6 separate regions of the Homo sapiens genome follow, and regions 1, 2, 4, 5 and 6 are each linked to region 3. Evidence: promoter capture Hi-C in 16 types of primary human blood cells and fetal thymus (Javierre and others, 2016). All regions are on one chromosome and are shown on one strand. The core of a region is centred on a gene start or on the middle of the fragment in contact, and the rest is flanking DNA. Distances in the headings are between cores, read along the strand shown.

Region 1 (2,915 bases), core at 98-2,597, 430 kb before region 3:
AAAAATCTTACAATGTTTAGTTGTTTTCGTCTGTGTGTGAGTCTGAATACACAGTATTATATTTCAGTGAGCCTCTTGCTATAGGATGTACCTGATCTCTAATGCCCACTCTCTTCCCAGCATAACCAGTCCTGATACCATCCTAATAGCATTCCTAGTATAAAAGTCCATGGGCCCTGTGGGAGCCTACAATAGGCAGGTAACCAGGTCCTGAAGACCCAGGCATGAGTGTCCCTCATTCATGTGGGACTTTCTCATGGGAATCCATCTCTTACTCTTCTCTGCTGCACCAAAGCCTGATTATTCTTCCCTTTCCCTGTTGCCCTTTGCCCACCCTTCTTCTCCTTTTTTTCTTGCAATCTAAGGGTCAGATTATTACGAGGTTTTGTAGTTTTGTCATAAAAATGTGATTCAAATTTGCTTCAAGAGCTGGCTAATTGTTTTCATAAAATAACTTAATCCACATCCTTTTCAGATTCTAAATCAGAAAATAAATCATAAGCCATTTTCAGATAAAAGGCAAAATCTAAGCTGCCAGGACTGTCACCCATAGAGATTTGTGTGTCGCCACTTGGTTTAGTGGAAAAAGCTCAGGGCTAGAAATTCAAATGCTGGTTCTTCTGCCTGCCAGTAAATGACATTAACCTAAGCCTCAGTTTCCTCTGAGTAAAATGAGCATAAAAGCCACATCACAGAGTGATGTCGAGGATTAAATGGGACTGAAAGAAAAAAATCTCTTTAAGTGCTCCTATCACACAGTGCCACATAAGCACCACAGGAGAAGGAGCTGTTAGTACTTATGTGTTCTAAATCCTTTAAAAAAATTATCAGATTTGGAGAATAGTTAAACTACATATTGTACAAGATTTAGTAGCCCTTCAAAAGTTTCAAAGATTTTGTTTAATTTATAAGAAAAGTTTGTTTTTATATAATCTCTTTTTAGGATTTCATTTTAGGTGAAATGTGGTAGTCTCATGCAAAGCACCTAGTAAAGGTTTAAATAATTTTGTAAGCTTTTTGTAATTATATTAGCTTTTTGTATTTTCTAACTTATTAATAGAGGGAAATAGAAGTACATTCTTTTGATTGCTGAAGAAGAGAAACTTTTTCAATAAAATTATCAAGAAAATAGCCAATTTCCTCTTTTCTAGGATATCCATTTTTATTGAATGATCCCAGTGCTTAGTCAAGCCATAAATGGATATTTTACTGAATTTGAGCCTCAGCTGCTTTAGGGAGCCAGTCTGCAATCTCGAATCTCAACCAAGAGGTCATTTGATCTTAGAGCTGCTTGTGTGTGATTATTTTCAACCTATTAGAATGCTCTTTTACTTAGAAATTAAATTATCTTTTTTTATGTTTTAATCCATATTCACCATCATTCCTCCCAATCTCCTAGTTCCCCTAAAACTCTCTTATCCCCCATTCCTACCAAACTATAAAATGGAATGTAGTAATTTGTGAACATGAAGATGCCTAACGTTTACTTTCCCATCCTACACGGTTGCCAGTATTTAACATTCCACTATTAGCCTTTTTTTAATTTGTAAGATTCAAAGTTCCGTGAGTGCAGAGACAATATCAGCTTCTAATGCTACCGTACATATACGGCATGCTTACCACAGTGCTTCACACTCAGTAGGTGCTCAATGAAGGTTTGCTGAATGAAGGGAAAGCTTTTAGCCTTCTTTCATTTAATCACGCAGATACCTTCAGAAACACAGAGTCTGCAGATCCATCAAATGTACCTTAACTGACTCAAAGTATTTAAATGCCACCATGTACCACAACCGTGCTATCTCCTTCCCATAATGCACTTAGCAGCTACGATGAAATTTGTTTTTCTGATGCTTTTCTGATAGCAGGTTTCACATGCAGGGAGGGAGAGGATGTGTGTGGGACATGGGACATCTTGGGAGGGAGAACCATACAAGGGAAAACCAAGAATAAGAACAGCTTTCTTTTACCAAGTCTTAACTAGGTGGCAGAACTATCTCATTTGACATTCATGCCAGCATTTTGAGGTTATTTCCATTTGTCAGATAAGGAAACTAAGGCTTATGGATGTTAAGGAACCCTCAAGGTCATACAGCTAATAGGTGGCAAGGCTATACTTTGAAATGGTTTTCTGACCCCAGATCCTTGTCTCCGGCCACAGTGCTTCTGGTGTTTACTTCCCCCAAGGGACAGAGGGCTCCCTAGACAAGGTGAAATGGGGGTAGAAGCACGGAAGAGTGTGAACTGCTGGTGCCATGAGACCAGAACCTCATCCACCGCATAACGCTGTTCAGAGCAGGCTCTGTTCAGGCAGAGAGGTAATTAATAGTCACAGAGTTTAATTATCCAGTTTCACTCTTTCTAACTAAAAGTCATTTGGGATCTACTGAGGATATTAGACAACATGTTCACTCTTAGGGGCTCATAACTATACTGTGGAATTCATGCAGGAAATAGCACAGGTCCTGAGATTTAGAACTATTTTGGCAAATACATATTAGCTATAATATGAGAACTACGTGACCCCCACCTTTGAGGTTAACTCCGCTGCTTACTTCAGTGGTTTCCTAGTTTTCTAAGAAAGCAACGGACAAATGCTGGAACGCTATCTGTGTGTAGGGTAGCACTCACAAGATGTCCCACGCTGTCCACATAGGTGCTGAGGCTTTAAACCAGGCCAAAAAATGACTGCATTAAGAAGTGGACGCCAGAAGCAGAGAGGCCTTTCTGCCTAGTGAGATGCAGACATACTGAGACGTGAAGCCAGCTAGGCTTCTGGGTCTGGTGGGGACTTGGAGAACTTTTCTGTCTAGCTAGAGGATTGTAAACACACCAATCAGCACTCTGTGTCTAGCTAAAGGTTTGTAAATGCACCAATCAGCACTCTGTAAAAACGCACCAATCAGTGCTCTGTGTCT
Region 2 (3,000 bases), core at 88-2,587, 450 kb before region 3:
AATTTATATGAAGATATCCCACAATCGGGCAATCGCCAAACAAGAAAGCATCCTTAATTGAGTTGAAACTGGGGGTAAGGGGACAGAAAAATCGCCCCCATAAAATAATTTCAAATTCAGCCTTGTGTTTCCCAGTAATTGGGCTGTCTGAGGATGAGACTGGGAGTGGAAAAATCCAAGTTAGTCTTAGAGCTGCACTTCTCAAAAGTGGCTGCAAAGGCTTTGAGGTGGTCAGTGATTTGTGTTTATTTACAACAATGCTTTAATTAATCATATTTAATAAGATTTGATATCACTTCATCGGTGGCTAAGCAAAATATTAATTATGATTTAGTTTGTTGACTTACCACTATCAAGAACTTGGATGATGATTTTTTTTAAATCATTTTATCTCTCTGTGCCTTTTCTATGCTTCAGAAGTGACAATGGCATGTTTAAGAGTCTAGGAAACATTTGAGCCTGGGATGAAAAGTCAGATACTGAAGACCCAGTTGTACACATAATGCATTTTTAGAGAAGATACATAAAAATGGACATCCAGCCAGGTGTAGTGGATCATGCCTGTAATCTTACCACTTTAGGAGGCCAAGACAGGAGGATTGCTTGAGGGCAGGAATTTTAGACCAGCCTGGGCAGTATAGCAAGACCCCATCTCTACAAAAAAAAAAAAAGAGAGAGAAAGAGAAAAAAAATGGACATCACTTACAAAGTACACTCTCAATAGCAGATATGCTCTATCTTTAAAAAAAGTTTTGAATTATTAATGTATCACCTTCTTGTTAAAGAAAACAATACCAAAATGTTTAAAATTAAAAGTAAAAATTACCTCCATTCCCACTCCCCTGGAATAATCACTTACAAATCCAACAAGTATCTTTCCAGTCTTTTTAAACACACAAACACATATACTGTATAATATATATGTGTATAAAATATATGTGTGTATTGCATATGCTTGTATACATGCAATATACATTTAATGTACCTATAGAGAGAGGATCGCTTCTTTTTAATGGGATCTTGTTAAACATATTGTTCTATAACTTCCTTTTTACTCAGAAATGTAATCATGAATAGCCTTTAATACCAGTATTATATTATTTGTAGTGGCTCCATAATATTCCAGAATATCAGTGTATGTTTTATTTAGTCCTTCCCATATTTATGGTCATTAAAGTTATCCCAAATTCTTCAGTAATATCAATAATGCTGCCATAAACATCCTTGCATATATATCATAAATTTTAAATATATATTTAAATGCAGCTGTTTTTGTTGTTGTTTTTTGTTTTTGTTTTTGTTTTTGTTTTTTGCCTCTGTGGAAACTGGAACTGTCAACTGAGAAGGGAAAGGCAGCACGAAATGAAGTATAAGTGTTGCATAAAGAATAAAGGCTCAAGTTGCAAAGCAGTGAGTTGGAGTTGGCTTATAGGAACAGAAAGCAGACTCATTAAAAATTGCATTTTGATGTATAATATATTTTTTTCAAAGTCATGAGGCTCTATGTTCTCACAATGTCTTCTTTCAGATAACATACCTGTAGGTGTGCACAACTCCGTCTCCAACTTTGTAACTGAACTGGGCATGGAGTTGGGTTCACTTTGTAACTTTGAAATCTTGATGAGCAGCACAGGAGCCATCATGGCTTCTCTGTAGCTAAGGAGACTGCAGTAGTTGCTACAACCAGTAGCTATATTTGGCTCTATTTCTCAAGCACTGAAATTGAAAATAAAGAAGTATTTTTCCTTCACTTTGATCTCCTTTCTATCTTGCTTTCTTTTATTGTATATTCTTTTTGAAAGTCACCTCATATTCTTACTGATTGGGTCTAGAGTCATTCCTTTATCCATTCACTTATTGATGTACATTGATACATGTACTGAAATACATCAAGTAGAGCTCATTTACCTTCATTATACCAGGAAAAAAAATCACCATTTACCATCTGGGGCCAATAAACCCTTTAAATTTTTTAAAATATTTTCAAAAATATTTTTAAGTCATTTTGCAAATAATTGATAGAAGTAAGAATAAGGGATAGTAAAAAAAAAAGTTAGAAATGTTAATAAGAATTTAAGCATAGCAAATTTAAATTTTCCATATTTTCCTGCTTTTGAAGGTATCTATACCCAAAATAGACGACGTCTTTAAAATTCAACTAACTGCCATACCTATCATGCAGGAGCCTGCAGCATATCCATAGTGTAAATATTGATTCCTGATTTCAAATAACTCTTTAATAGGTTTTAGCATATTCATGGTTCTGCTCTGTTTGGCCTTATCAAAATGTGACACATTTGAAATTTTTAACAAACCAGAATTGTGTTGGCATTGTCACAGGATTCTTAGGGTATTGCTTCGCCAGCCGGAAATCTCTGTGGCCGGTGGTGCCTTTGCCTAAGTTTTGCTTGGGCCTGCTGGGCCCACTCAGCCTGGCAGGCTGCACTCAACTCGTGCTACTGGCCTGGATCCCATGCCTGCCAAGGGTGAGCAGAGCGGTGAGGGGTGTGTGGGTAAGTGAGGTGTCCGGCCACTGCGCACAGCCAGGCATGCTGGCGGCAGTGGGGGCAGGGAACTCCAGGAGCCAGCACAGGTGTCGGCTCCCTGCAAGGCTGCAGCTGGACTAGCCTTGCATACTGCATACTGCAAGCAGCTTCCACGGCTGGCACCAAGGAATGCACTGGTGCCCAAAAACTTGGAGACAGCAGGAATTGCTGAGCCCCAAAGGAGGTGTCACAGCCCTGGCTTGGGGAGCTCCCAGGTCTGAGCTCCCCAAAGGGTCGCATTTCTTCTCTCCTTCTCTCTGCTGTCCTTCTTGTTGCCTACAATGTGGCGAGCAAGGGGCACATTTCAGCCCTGTGTTATAGCTCTGTTGACCCTGCCATTTGGTGGGTCCCGAGTTCTTGTCTTGCATCCAGGAAGAATGAGGTACATGGACAAAGGAGGGTGAGCAAGGCAAAGCAGGAGCTTTATTGAGTGATAAAACAGCTCAGAGGAGAC
Region 3 (2,944 bases), core at 397-2,896:
CTGTACAATCAGCCAACCAAGGAAGTGAAAGGTAAGAAGGAGCTGAAGAGGGAAAAAAAAAACTATATTCTCTCACAGGTATTATCATGCTTATCATGTTGGAGTATTAAAAATAATATCTGTCAAATGCCTAGAATATTTAAAACATGAAAAATAAGCCAGGAAAGAAAGAATAACTTAATATTAATAGGTTCTCCTCTTCCTCTTGTGTATAAAAAGAAGCCTGTCTTCAGTCAGAGTCCCCAGCTTAAGTCGGGGGTAATGGAGGAGGAGGAGAAATGAGAGACTGGAGGCCTCATTTTGGAAAGTGGGTTACTGAGGAAGAATCAACACTTAGTAGGGAGCAGAACCACCAAGGACTGCATGTGAGAGTTTGGAAAAGTTTTGAGACAGAAGATGGTAGTTGGGAGCATCTGTCATATAGTGTAGCATGAAAAATGCAGGGAGGGAGGGAGGCAGAGATCGGGAAAGATGATTTTAAAGCATGTTCTTGTATGTAATTAGTGTAATTCCCATTTTGCCATTTCCAAGAGTCCGGAGAAGATCCTAATTGATTTTCAACTACTTCCTAATGATACTTGCTAAGATGAACCCAGAGGGGTCGCTTTATCTATAAATACTTACTAAATATGATTATCTTCTCTGGAGCCCAGATCATCTTCCTTAAAGTTGCAGTGCAGTAGTGCCAATATTACGATATGCTATGCAGTAAAGTTGGCCCTGTGTGTGTTTATTGCCCTTACGAGTTTATAAACAGGCTCCTTGACGATAGGGATTTTTCTTAATCATCTTTGTGCCCTACCCAGCTCCAGCTTCCAGCCACCCAGTTAGTGAAAACTGTACAAACTACATGTTCAAAAATTAGTGTGAAATGAATGCACAGGTGATGAATGAATGGGATTGAAATTAAAGGGTGATTTCGTTAGCAGCGTCTATGACAGCACTGCCTTTCCCCCCACCAGCTGATGGGCTCCGTGAGGGACCAAGGCTCTTTGGTCCTCACTTTGTCCCCAGCACTTGCACTCTGTCAAGCACAAAATAAGCATCGGGAGAATCTTTGTGTCCCCTCGAATGAGTATTTCAGTGTATCAAGAATGGAAGAAAGGCCAAGCGCAGTGGCTCATGCCTGTAATCCCAGCACTTTGGGTCGAGGCGGGCGGATCACTTGAGGTCAGGAGTTATAGACCAGCCTGGCCAACGTGGTAAAACCCTGTCTCTACTAAAAATACAAAAAATTTAGCCCGGCGTGTTGACGGCCGCCTGTAATCTCAGCTACTCGGGATGCTGAGGCAGGAAAATCGCTTGAACCCGGGAGGTGGAGGCTGCAGTGAGCCTAGATCGTGCCACTGCACTCCAGCCTGGGCGACGGAGCGAGAGTCTGTCTAAAAAAAAAAAAAAAAAAAAAAAAAAAAAAAAGAATGGAAGAAAGCAAAACAATCCAAGGCCAAACTGAAGCGAGCTGCCTTGGTGGGGCTCCGGTGCAGAAGCGCAGCGTCGCCTGCTCTTGGGTGCCTAATGAACGACCGGACTCCTGCAGGCGCTCCGCCAACTGCAGCGATCTCTGGAGCCGGCCTGTCCTCCACAGAGATAGGGGGCGCTGTAGCAGAGCGCGGCCGTCGAGTCCGCGTGGTGCCGCTCTCTAGGCGGAGTGGGGAGGCGGCAAGAGGACCTGCGGCAGGCCCTCTTCGGCAGTCTCTCCGGCCCGGTTTCCCTCGGCGTGCTACTGTGCGCTCGATCCAGCACCATGGGGAAGCGGGACAATCGGGTGGTGAGTACTCAGCCGGGAAAACAGTGGGGCGACGCAGGGCCCGGCGGCAGGACAGCGAGAACCCTCGCTGTTCCCGGCCGGGCCGGAGGGCAAGCGGCAGCCCTCAGACGTGGGGCCTGGAGACCCAGCACCCTCCGCCGATCCCAGATGCGCGTGCGCCGCGCACGCAGTTGGCGCTTTAGGGTTCCCAGCTCTCTCTTGCCCGCCCCTTTTTTCTTCCCTCACCTCGTCGCTCTTTCTGGCGCTGCTGGTTTGCACTCTTGCCTGCTGTACGCGGGCCCCCAGTGCCCACTTAGAACCGCGAGGGCTCGGGGAACCCCCCCCACACCTGGCCCCGCCATGTAACTCCGAAGACTTAGGCCCTTGGACGCATCCGACTCACCCGCCCCTTGGTATCGGCCGCCCCAGGTCCGCACCCCTCTCCTGCGCACCCAAGTGGGAGGGAGGCACAGAGGCCTCGACGCGGTCCCTGTGCCGGAGAGCCAGCAGCGCGCCTGGTTTTAGCGACAAGCAGGCTCCCGTTTGAAAATGGGATGGCAGCATTTGCTTTCGTGTCTCCAGCGCCCTGTAGGACCTGGCCCCCATAGACACTGTGAGGGAATGAATGGCGTGAAAATAGTTGGCTTTCGAGTCCAACACAAAACTGGAATGTCAGTTTTGTTCCGTCGGAAGTTGGGTGACCTAGAACAAGTTACTTTTCTTCTCTGTGCCGTCGTTTATAAAAGGGGATCATTATTATCTACAACCTTACAGATTAATTGAAATCACAAAAGGCAAGATGTGTGAGCGAGTACTGGGCATGAAAATTATTACTCTAGTGAATGAGATAAAAGAGATGCATAAATAACTTACAGCAGAAAGAGTAGGAAATGGTCCTTGATAGTTGTTAGAGATTCTAAAGGCATTCAAAAGAAAAGGTGCTTTTGAGAAGCGGAGATGGGAGGAAAGTATTCTAGACCGCTGGGGCGGGGAGGGGGCTGAAAAACTCAGGTTATGAATCAGATTGAATGAGTAGTAAACATAATGAAATAACAATAAGCTTAGGTTGCAGCCTGACAATTTCTGGGCTTGCCTGTGACAAAGTTTTAGCCACTGAGTAGCAAAATGAGGAAAATGCACGTAAAACGAATGTGCTACGTTTCTTGAACTCGCTTTTTTATTCAACAATTATTTGCA
Region 4 (3,200 bases), core at 248-2,747, 310 kb before region 3:
ATCTGTATGTGTACACACACATCTCTATCTTTCTATACATGTATCTATCTATCTGCATCTATATCTGTCTATATATATGTGTATGTGTGTGTGTGTGTGTGTGTGTATTTAAATTTGAATTTGTATTTATAATTATTCTCCCTGCTGGTTCTGCTTCTCTGGTTGAACCCTGACTGATACAGTATAATATTTTTACATAGTCAATCTATCAATATTCTCATTTATAGCTGCTGGGTTTTGTGTCTTGCTGACTTAGTCTTCATATAAATATGTTTGTAAGTCATGATTATACAGAATTGGTAGTAATGGCTAAAGATTGAAAAGCCCCTTCACTCCTCTCTACTATTTCTTCCCCATCTAGAAGTAACCATTGTTAATAAGTTGGACTATATTTGTCAAGCCTATTTTTTATACAAAAAAATAGCCCGTGTGTGTGTGTGTGTGTGTGTGTGTGTGTGTGTGTAAAAGTCTACAAAGTGAGCTGGAAGAACACATCCCAACTTAATGACAATGATTACATGTAAATGAGAAAAAAGTGGTAGACAGAAGTGAAAAGGGACTTTCAGCATTTTGTACTTTTGATTGTCTAAATCTTAGATAATGAGAATCTATTTGTATTTAAGTGATTTTTATATTAAAAAAACTTCATAAAAATTATTAATAATGATTCCATGATTCCAATATTTCAAATTTGGGTAAGCCAAGAGATAATGGTTCCATTGAGATAAATAAAAATGCCAAAAACCAGATGTTTACTTCAAGAATTACAAACTCCAAAGCCATGCTTAAATGCATAATAAAAGACAATAGGAAGATTGAATGTGGTGTCTAGCTAGGAGCACATGCTTGACCTAACTTTCAAAAGTCTACGGACAAATAAAACATATCTACAGGCCAAATTTGGCTTTTGGGCCATAGCTGTGTAACCCTTCCAACGATATAGGAAAAGAAGAGGTTGATTTCAAATCAAGAACGATAGAATTTGAGCCTTAGAGATGTTTTTAAAATCATAAAAGCTAAGACTCCAGTAAAAACAACAGCATAATTTGGTAAGAACTTGTTCCTTTTGAAAGGTGTATTATAGATACACACTCATGTTGTTTAAGAATTTCATCCTATTCTGATTTAATTTTGGCTGAAGGGCTGGAGCAATACAAAATTCTCTTCATCTACTTTCAGATAAATAGGAAGAGACACATTTCTCATAAAGACAATTTAGTAAGAGCTCTATTAAGTTTAGGAAACTGAGAAATGGCAAATTTTGAATTTTACAGTGTGACATTTAATAGAAGCTTCCATTAGAAATACCATACTTAATATCAAATGTTTTTTTTTAAAAATGAGGGACAGCAACATGGCCAGGACTCAGCATTTATCTCACACTTGTCAAGGTATAACTGTTGAGCAGACACTGTAATGGATAACAGCCCACAAATGTTTACAGACCAAAAATTAATCAATGTAATACATCATATCAATACAATAAAGAACAAAACATGATCATCTCACATGATCATCTCAATAGAAAAGGGAAACATTTCACACAATGCAAGACTAAAATATTGTTTATAAAAAACTAGGAATGGAAGGGAACTTTCTCAGCTTGATAAAGTGCATATATGAAAAACCCACAGTTAATACATGTTGAGCATCCCAAATCTGAAAGTCCAAAATCCAAAATGCCCTAAAATCCAAAGCTTTTTGAGTGCTGACATCACGCTCAAAGGAAATGTTCACTGGATCATTTCAAATTTTTGGTTTTTTTATTTGGGATATTCAACTGGTAAGTACAATGCAAATATACCAAAATCCAAAAAAACAACCACCAAATCCAGAACACTTCTGATCCCAACTAGTTCAGGTAAGGTATATACAACTTGTGTAATACATAAGGGTGAAGAACTGAATGTTTTTCCCCTAAGATCAGGAACAAGACAAGAGTGATTATTCTCACTACTTCCATTTAACATTATACAAGGTGAGCCAATTAGGGGAGAAAATGAAATGAAAGCAATAAAATTTGAAAGAAAGAAGTAAAATATATGTATACATGACATGATTAAGTCATCATGATTCAGAAAATCCTAGATAATCTAGCAAAAACTATTCAAACTAATAAGTTTTGCAATGCTGCAGGATACAAGATCATTATACAAAAATCAATTGTATTTCTACACACTTGCACTGAACAATCCAAAATGAAATAAAGAAAATAATTTCATTTCTTATAGCATCAAAAATAATAAAATATTTACAAATATATTTAACAAAGGAAGTGAAAAACTTGTGTTCTGGAAAGTATAAAATATTATTGAAAGAAATTAAAGACAACCTAAATAAATGGAAAGACATACCATTTTCATAGATCAGATACCATGAATACACCCATGTTCATGGGCAATATTTCCCAAACTGATCTACAGATTCAACTCAACTATTCAAACCATTCAATGGACAAAGAATAGACTTTGTAGCAAATGGTGCTGAACCCTTGCCTCACACTATGTAGAAAAATTCACACAAAATAGATCAAAGACCTCACTGTAAGAACTACTATAGTTTCATAAAACTAGTTTACAAAATGAAAACTATAAAACTCTTAAAAGAAAATATCAGCTTAAACCTTTATAACCTTGAGTAAGAGAAAAGTTTCATAGATATGACACTAAAAGTACAAGCAACAAAGAAACACATGGATAAATTGGATTACATCAAAATTTAAAATTCTTGTGCTACAAAAGTTATCATCAAGAAAGTGAAGAGACAACCCACGAAATGGGAGAAAATATTTGCAAATCATATTTCTGATGAGAGACTTATACCTAGAATATGTATAGAAATCTTATGATTCAGAGGTGGCTGGCAAGATGGCCAAATAGCAACAGCTGCAGTATGAAGCTCCCAGTGAGATCAACACAGAAAGCAGGTGATTTCTGCATTTCCAACTGAGACAGTGGGAGCAGCCCATGGAGGGAAAGCCGAAGCGTGGTGCAGTGTCACCTCACCCAGGGAGCACAAGGGGTCAGGGAACTCCCTCACCTAGCCAAGGGAAGCCGTGAGGGACTGTGCCATGAGGCATGGTGCATTCTGGCCCAGATACTACACTTTTCCCACAGTCTTCACAACCTGCACACCAGGAGATTTCCTCAGGTGCCTACACCACCAAGGCCCTGGGTTTCAAGCACAAAACTGGGTGGCCG
Region 5 (3,183 bases), core at 447-2,946, 290 kb before region 3:
ACTATTAAAATACTAGAGTGTTCTGAATATGACTACATATTACTTATACCATTGGGTTTTGTAATTTCATATGTTTTATTTTATTAGTTAGTGGCCTTTATTTCAGCTTAAAGAACTCCCTGTAGCAGGCCTTGTGATAAGCTCCCTTAGCTTTTGTTTGTCTGGGAAAGTTTTTATTTCTTCCTCATTTTTGAAGAATAGCTTTGCTAGGTGACGTTTTCTTAGCTGGCAATTTTTTTTCTTCAGCACTTTTAATATATCATCCCACTCTTTCCTGGCCTGCAAAGTTTCTGCTAAGAAATCTGCTGATAGCTGCATTGGGACTCCCTCTTATGTGATGAGTCTCCTTTCTCTCACTGCTTTCAGAATTCTTTTTTTGTCTTTTTCTTTTTGGTCTTTGATTTTTAATAGTCTGGTTAGGATGTATCTTGGTGAACTCCTCTTTGGGTTGAATTTTATTGGAGTTCTCTGGGCTTCTGGTACCTGGATGTTGGCATCCTTCCCCAGATTTGGGAAGTTTTCAGTTATTATTTCTTAAAATATGCTTCCTGGCCTTCTTTCTCTTCTCCTTCTGGTATTTTTGTTATGCAAAAGTCAGTTTTCTTGAAAGTACCCCCCAATTCCTATAGACTTTCTTCATTCTTTCTCATTTATTTATTTATAATTCTCTTACTATAAAATTTGAAATGGTCTCTCTTTGAGGTCACTTATTCTTTCTTCTGCTTGATTGAGTCTGCTGTTGAAGCCTTCTATTGAATTATTCTATTAAGCAACTGTCTTTTTCATTTCTATGTTTTCTATTTGGTTTTTGTTTATTTGTTTTTATTTTTTGTGAAACTTTTCATTTTTTTCATGTATTGGCTTCCAAATTTTAATTTTCTATCCTTATTTTTTTAAACAGGTCACTGAACTTCTTTAAGAGATTTATTCTGAATTCTTTGTCATTTTATAGATCTCTGTTTCTTTAGGTTCCATTGCCTTTGCTGTTAGGTTGGGTGGTACTACAGTTGGGGGCTGCAGTCCAGTGAGACCATTCACTGGACTCTGCAGTCTGGCTGACCTATTGGCCAGGCACTGTGATTACCTCTAATCCAGCAGAGTCACAGGCTGTATTCCCTGGCTGTGCAGTACTACTATTTGGATTCTAGAGTTGGACAGCCTGTGGACTGGGCTTTAAGCTTAGGCAGAGTCATTGCTTGGAATTTTCAAGACTAGAGGCTATGCTCCATAGGAATACATAGTTGAGGCTTGCCTCCTTGCCTGGGCAGAGTCTTGCGTGGGCTCTGCGACTAGGCTGAGTCACTGTTTCAACTCCCAGGTTGGGCAGGGCCAGCCCCTATGCTGTACAAAAAAAAAAAAAAACAAAAAAACAGTGGCAGGCATTTCCCTGCTAGAGCACAATCTTGAGGTAAGCTCTGAGGTAGGGCCAAGTCACTGTTTGGGCTCCCAGGTCAGGCAGGTCCAGCCCCTGTGGTCTGCAGAAATACATGATGGCATACATCTCCCTGCCTGGGTGGACCATTGTGGTAGGCTGTGAGGTTGGTTGGAGTGGCTGGCTAGGGACTCAAGCCAGGTAGAACTTCCCACTGTATTTCTGGGAGCAATCAGCTCAGCTTTGTGGGTAGGCTATAACATTGGCTTGGTATCTTTGATCAGGTGCCACCATTGGCAGGAATACACAGCTACCACCAAGATCTGTATAGTGGTTACTATGAACCCTTCCCCCTTTTTTTGTTTTTACTGGACTCCAAACGCTCTAGTCCCACCATTACCCATAGTATTCCCCCATAAGGCAAGATAGGAGTGGGTGACCCATGATGCTGGGGAAGCTGGATGTCCAACCAGGCTCACTTTTCCTACTATAGAAACCATAGGCCTGGGGAATTTCCTCTGTGTGGGACTGTGCTGACATGGTTAAAGTGAGACAGTTCCTCTTACCCTTCTAATATAGTTTTTCATTTCTGTGGTCCATGTAGGTATCTCAGTCTCATTTCCAAGTTTTGCAGTTTTCACAAAGGTGTTCTTGTCTGAATAGTTGCTAGTTGGACTTTCTGTGTGGTGGACTGAAGCCTAAGACCTCCTATTCTGCCATCTTGCTGATATTACTCCCATCCAAGTCTTTATATAAAGCCCAAACATTTCCAATTTTTTCTCCTATAGCCTCCTAACCTCAAGTTGAATTCAACATAACAAATCTAATATAACCAAAGCTTTGAACCATTCTTTGGGAGATTTGAAAGACTAGAAAACGAACCAGACCACGCTGAATTTTTTAACAGAGTCATCAGACAACCTAATGGCAAAAATGAAGTCTCAAGGGGCTTCAACTTCTGAATTGCAGCTGTATATCTGCAAGCTAAACATGGTTTCTACATTCACTTACCATAAATATTGTTGTCCCATAGTAATTATTACATGCCTACCATATGCCACGTACTGTGCTAGATGATAAAGACATAATGATTAATGCAAGGTCTCTGTTTCTGAAGAATTTCCAGATTAAAGGGAAGCAAATAATCACACTAAGTAATAGATAAAAATGCTATACAGTGGTCTGGGCTAAGTGCTGTGGGAACAGAAGGAAACAACTGACTGTATGAGTAAAGCTGAGAAAGCTTCCTGTGAAGGTGACCTTTCAGCTGGGTCTTGGGGAATGAATAGAAAATGCCTGTAATGCCCTCTAGAAATTTTTCAACACATGCGAAATTTTTGTTACGCTATTAATCTAGTGTTTTATATGCCCTTATCTGAAAACAAAGCAGAATCAAGTAAATACAAAAAAGGCACTAAATTTGCTATAAAGCTATTTAGAAAATAATGGACATGAGTATGCACTGTGAGAAATTTATGGGCATTCTTTATCCTGCATTTTTGACCAAAAAAAAAGATAATCAAGAAAATATTATATTGTTGACCCTAATTGATCTAGCAATAGTTATAATCCTTCTGTTATATGTTGCTCTATCAAACAACAGACTCATTTCTTCATAAAGGTTGGGCTAAGCTATAAAATTATTTAATTATAGAGATATAAATTGTCCCCAATATACAGTTTGTGCATGTTGATGTTAGACCTGGCTGGGTTTAATCACTCCTGGCTTAAAATTTTTCTTTTTTTTAAATGGTTTAGCAAGAGTTCCCACAACTTCCTTTGGTAATCTGTCTTTTGTCATCCATGGTCTT
Region 6 (2,760 bases), core at 12-2,511, 500 kb before region 3:
CAGGCTGGGCATGGTGGCTCACACCTGTAATCCCATCACTTTGGGAGGCTGAGGCAGGTGGATCACTTGCGACCAGGCATTGGAGACTAGCCTGGCCCACATAGCGAAACCTCATCTCTACGAAAAAAAAAATACAAAAAAAATTTAGCCAGGTGTGGTGGTGCACACTGTAATCCCAGCTACTTGGGAGGCTGAGGCACAAGAATCACTTGAATCCAAGAGGCAGAGGTTGCAGTAAGTCAAGATTGCGCCACTGCACTCCAGCCTGGGCAACAGAGCAAGACTCAAAAAAAAAAAAAAAAAAAAAAGACAAAAAACAATTTTGGTGAGAATGCAGACAAAGGAGAAGCCTCATACACTGTTGGTGGATATGTAAATTAGTATGGCCACTATGGTAAGTAGCATGGCGGTTCCTAAAAAAACTAAAAATAGAACTACCATACGATTCAAAAATACCACTATTGGGTATATGTCCAAAAGAAAGGAAATTGGTGTGTCAAAGAAGTATCTAGACTCCCATGTTTATTGAAGCACTATTCTCAATAGCCAAGATGAGGAAGCCACATAAGTTTTCATCAACAGATGAATAAAGAAAGAAAATATATGGAGACATCTCCCTAATCTACCCAGAAGGACACAGCATTACAATACCACCTGGACCCAGTGGTGCAGCCACATCCCTAGTACCGAATCCCATATAGCACCTTATGCCCTGTGAAACAGATGGTCCTGTGCATCAGGGAAGTTGTCCCCCGAATATAGGGAGCCAAAACATGTACTCCCAAGAACCTGAGAGCCACCTGCCCAGAGCCACTTCTGTCAACACTGACCCTGACCCCTTCAACAGCAGGGCCACAAGCACCACTCAGGGACCCAAGCACTGCACTACTTGGGGCGTAACACCACCACCACCAGCAACTTCACTTCCTCCAGCAGCAGGGCCACCATGCATGCTGGCCAGGGTTTTAAGGATCAGCTCACCCAAAACCTGTTGCCACCACTGCCAGCACCCACATGTGCCACCCAGGGGTACAAAAACCAGCCCACCCAGGCCCATCACAACCACCACAACCACTGGTGCCTGAACATGCTACCCAGGGGCCTGAGGACCAGCCCACTCAGGGTCTGTCATCACCACCACTGGAAAACCCTCCCTTTCCAGAAATGGGGCCATCACACACCTGCGTGGGTCCCCCATGGTCCCAAGGACTGGCCTGCCCAGTGCCCCTGTCTCCATCAAAGCTGCATCACAACCTTCACAAATATCCACAGCTTAAGTCACTGAGAAACTCACAGACTGCACTGGTATTGATGATAGCCCAAGAGAACATACAAGGACTATACTACAGCCCCCAGGACCAAAGCCAAAGCACCCCACCCAACTGACACTATAGATACATGTATAGGGCAAAGTTTTTTCCTGCAAAAGCTACTCCATAAAATTGGAAGAGCAATTGTTACACCAGATGCACAGATATCAATGTGCATGACCAAAACAAAAAAAAGAAAAGAAAAGAAAAGAAAAAGCAAGGAAATATGACACCTCCACAAAGGAACACAATAATTCTCTAGTAACAGACCCCAGAGAAATGAGAATCCATGAAATACCTGAAAAACAATTCAAGGTAATGATCTTAAGGAAACTCAGTAAAATACAAGAGAACACAGCCAATACAAAGGAATTGGGAAAATAATTCATAATTTGATGAGAAATTCCACAAAGATATTCTTTGTTGAATAATAATAAAAAGATAATAAGATAATAAATCTTTTTATTTAAAAGATAATTAAAATATAAAAGAATTTTTATTATTATTATTTTTAAATTTTAGATTTGGTGGTACACATGCTTGTTTGTTACATGGGTATATTGCACACTGGGATTGAGCATCTAGTGTACTCATTACCCAAATAGCAAATATTATACCTGATAGGTAATTTTTCAACCCTTATTCCCATCATACCCTCTCCCTTTTGGAGTCCCCAATGTCTATTATTTCCATCTTTATGTTCATGTGTACTCATTGTTTACCTGCCTCTTATAACTGAGAACATGTGGTATTTGACTTACTGTTTCTGAGTTAGTTTACTTAGGATAATGGCCTCCAGCTCCACCCATGTTGCTGCAAAAACCATGATTTCATTCTTTTTATGGCTGAGTAGTATTCCGTGGTGTATATATGCCACATTTTCTTTAATGATTCAACTGTCAATGGACACTTAGGTTGGTTCCATGACTTTGCTATTGTGAATAGTGCTGCAATGAACATACAAGTACGGGTGTCTTTTCTATATAATGATTTCTCTTGCTTTGAGTAAACACCCAGTACTGGATTTACTGGGTCAAATGGTAGCTCTATTTTTAGTTGTTTGATAAATCTCCATACTATTTTCCATAGAGGTTGAACTAATTTACATTCCCACCAACAATGTATAAGTGTTCCCTTTGCTCTGAATCCATGCCAGCATCTTTTGCATTTTGATTTTTTAATGATAGCCATTCTGACTGGTGTAAGATGATATTCTTATTGAAGTTTTAATTTGTATTTATCTGATAATTAGTGATGCTGAACATTTTTATGTGTTTGTTAGCTGTTTGTATGTCTTCTTTTAGGAAATGGCTGTTCACATCCTTTGCCTAGCCTTTAATGGGGTTGTTTTTGGCTTTTTTTTTTTTTTTTCTTATTGAGTTGTTTGAGTGAGTTCCTTGTAAATTCTGGATATTAGTCCTTTGTCAGAGGCATAATTTGTGAATATTTT

The links. Contacts are between HindIII fragments. The CHiCAGO score rates a contact against its expected background, and 5 or more counts as called.
Region 1: a contact is called between a fragment that was not itself captured here and the fragment with the promoter of FAM133B in region 3, in 7 of 17 cell types (M0 macrophages, activated CD4 T cells, endothelial precursors and 4 more). The highest score is 6.5, in M0 macrophages.
Region 2: a fragment that was not itself captured here is called in contact with the fragment with the promoter of FAM133B in region 3 in 15 of 17 cell types (activated CD4 T cells, naive CD4 T cells, total CD4 T cells and 12 more); the score reaches 12.4 in activated CD4 T cells.
Region 4: a contact is called between a fragment that was not itself captured here and the fragment with the promoter of FAM133B in region 3, in 1 of 17 cell types (total CD8 T cells). The highest score is 5.0, in total CD8 T cells.
Region 5: a contact is called between a fragment that was not itself captured here and the fragment with the promoter of FAM133B in region 3, in 2 of 17 cell types (activated CD4 T cells and neutrophils). The highest score is 7.0, in activated CD4 T cells.
Region 6: a fragment that was not itself captured here is called in contact with the fragment with the promoter of FAM133B in region 3 in 6 of 17 cell types (neutrophils, total CD8 T cells, erythroblasts and 3 more); the score reaches 6.7 in neutrophils.

The regions. Positions count from the first base shown.
Region 1 is chr7:93,023,377-93,026,291 of GRCh38, reverse strand. No RefSeq gene overlaps it. Among named protein-coding and RNA genes, the nearest start is that of SAMD9, 93 kb to the left of the region's middle. RefSeq lists an enhancer at 2,821-2,915. The HindIII fragment of the contact is 663 bases long and covers 1,016-1,678 here.
Region 2 is chr7:93,040,103-93,043,102 of GRCh38, reverse strand. No RefSeq gene overlaps it. Among named protein-coding and RNA genes, the nearest start is that of SAMD9, 76 kb to the left of the region's middle. RefSeq lists an enhancer at 2,024-2,538. The HindIII fragment of the contact is 6,307 bases long and covers 1-3,000 here.
Region 3 is chr7:92,589,092-92,592,035 of GRCh38, reverse strand. It overlaps FAM133B (family with sequence similarity 133 member B), which reads left to right and starts at 1,646. Exons shown (of 11, transcript NM_152789.4): 1 at 1,646-1,768. The coding sequence starts at 1,745. LOC105375397 (a long non-coding RNA gene) reads left to right here. Exons shown (of 3, transcript XR_927744.3): 3 at 1-16. RefSeq lists enhancers at 1,489-1,768, 1,859-1,918. The HindIII fragment of the contact is 8,062 bases long and covers 1-2,809 here.
Region 4 is chr7:92,898,818-92,902,017 of GRCh38, reverse strand. All of the region lies in intron 1 of CDK6-AS1 (CDK6 antisense RNA 1), which reads right to left. Among named protein-coding and RNA genes, the nearest start is that of CDK6, 64 kb to the right of the region's middle. The HindIII fragment of the contact is 405 bases long and covers 1,295-1,699 here.
Region 5 is chr7:92,874,086-92,877,268 of GRCh38, reverse strand. The region is part of intron 1 of CDK6-AS1 (CDK6 antisense RNA 1); the gene reads right to left. Among named protein-coding and RNA genes, the nearest start is that of CDK6, 39 kb to the right of the region's middle. The HindIII fragment of the contact is 1,032 bases long and covers 1,181-2,212 here.
Region 6 is chr7:93,085,063-93,087,822 of GRCh38, reverse strand. No RefSeq gene overlaps it. Among named protein-coding and RNA genes, the nearest start is that of SAMD9, 32 kb to the left of the region's middle. The HindIII fragment of the contact is 3,136 bases long and covers 1-2,760 here.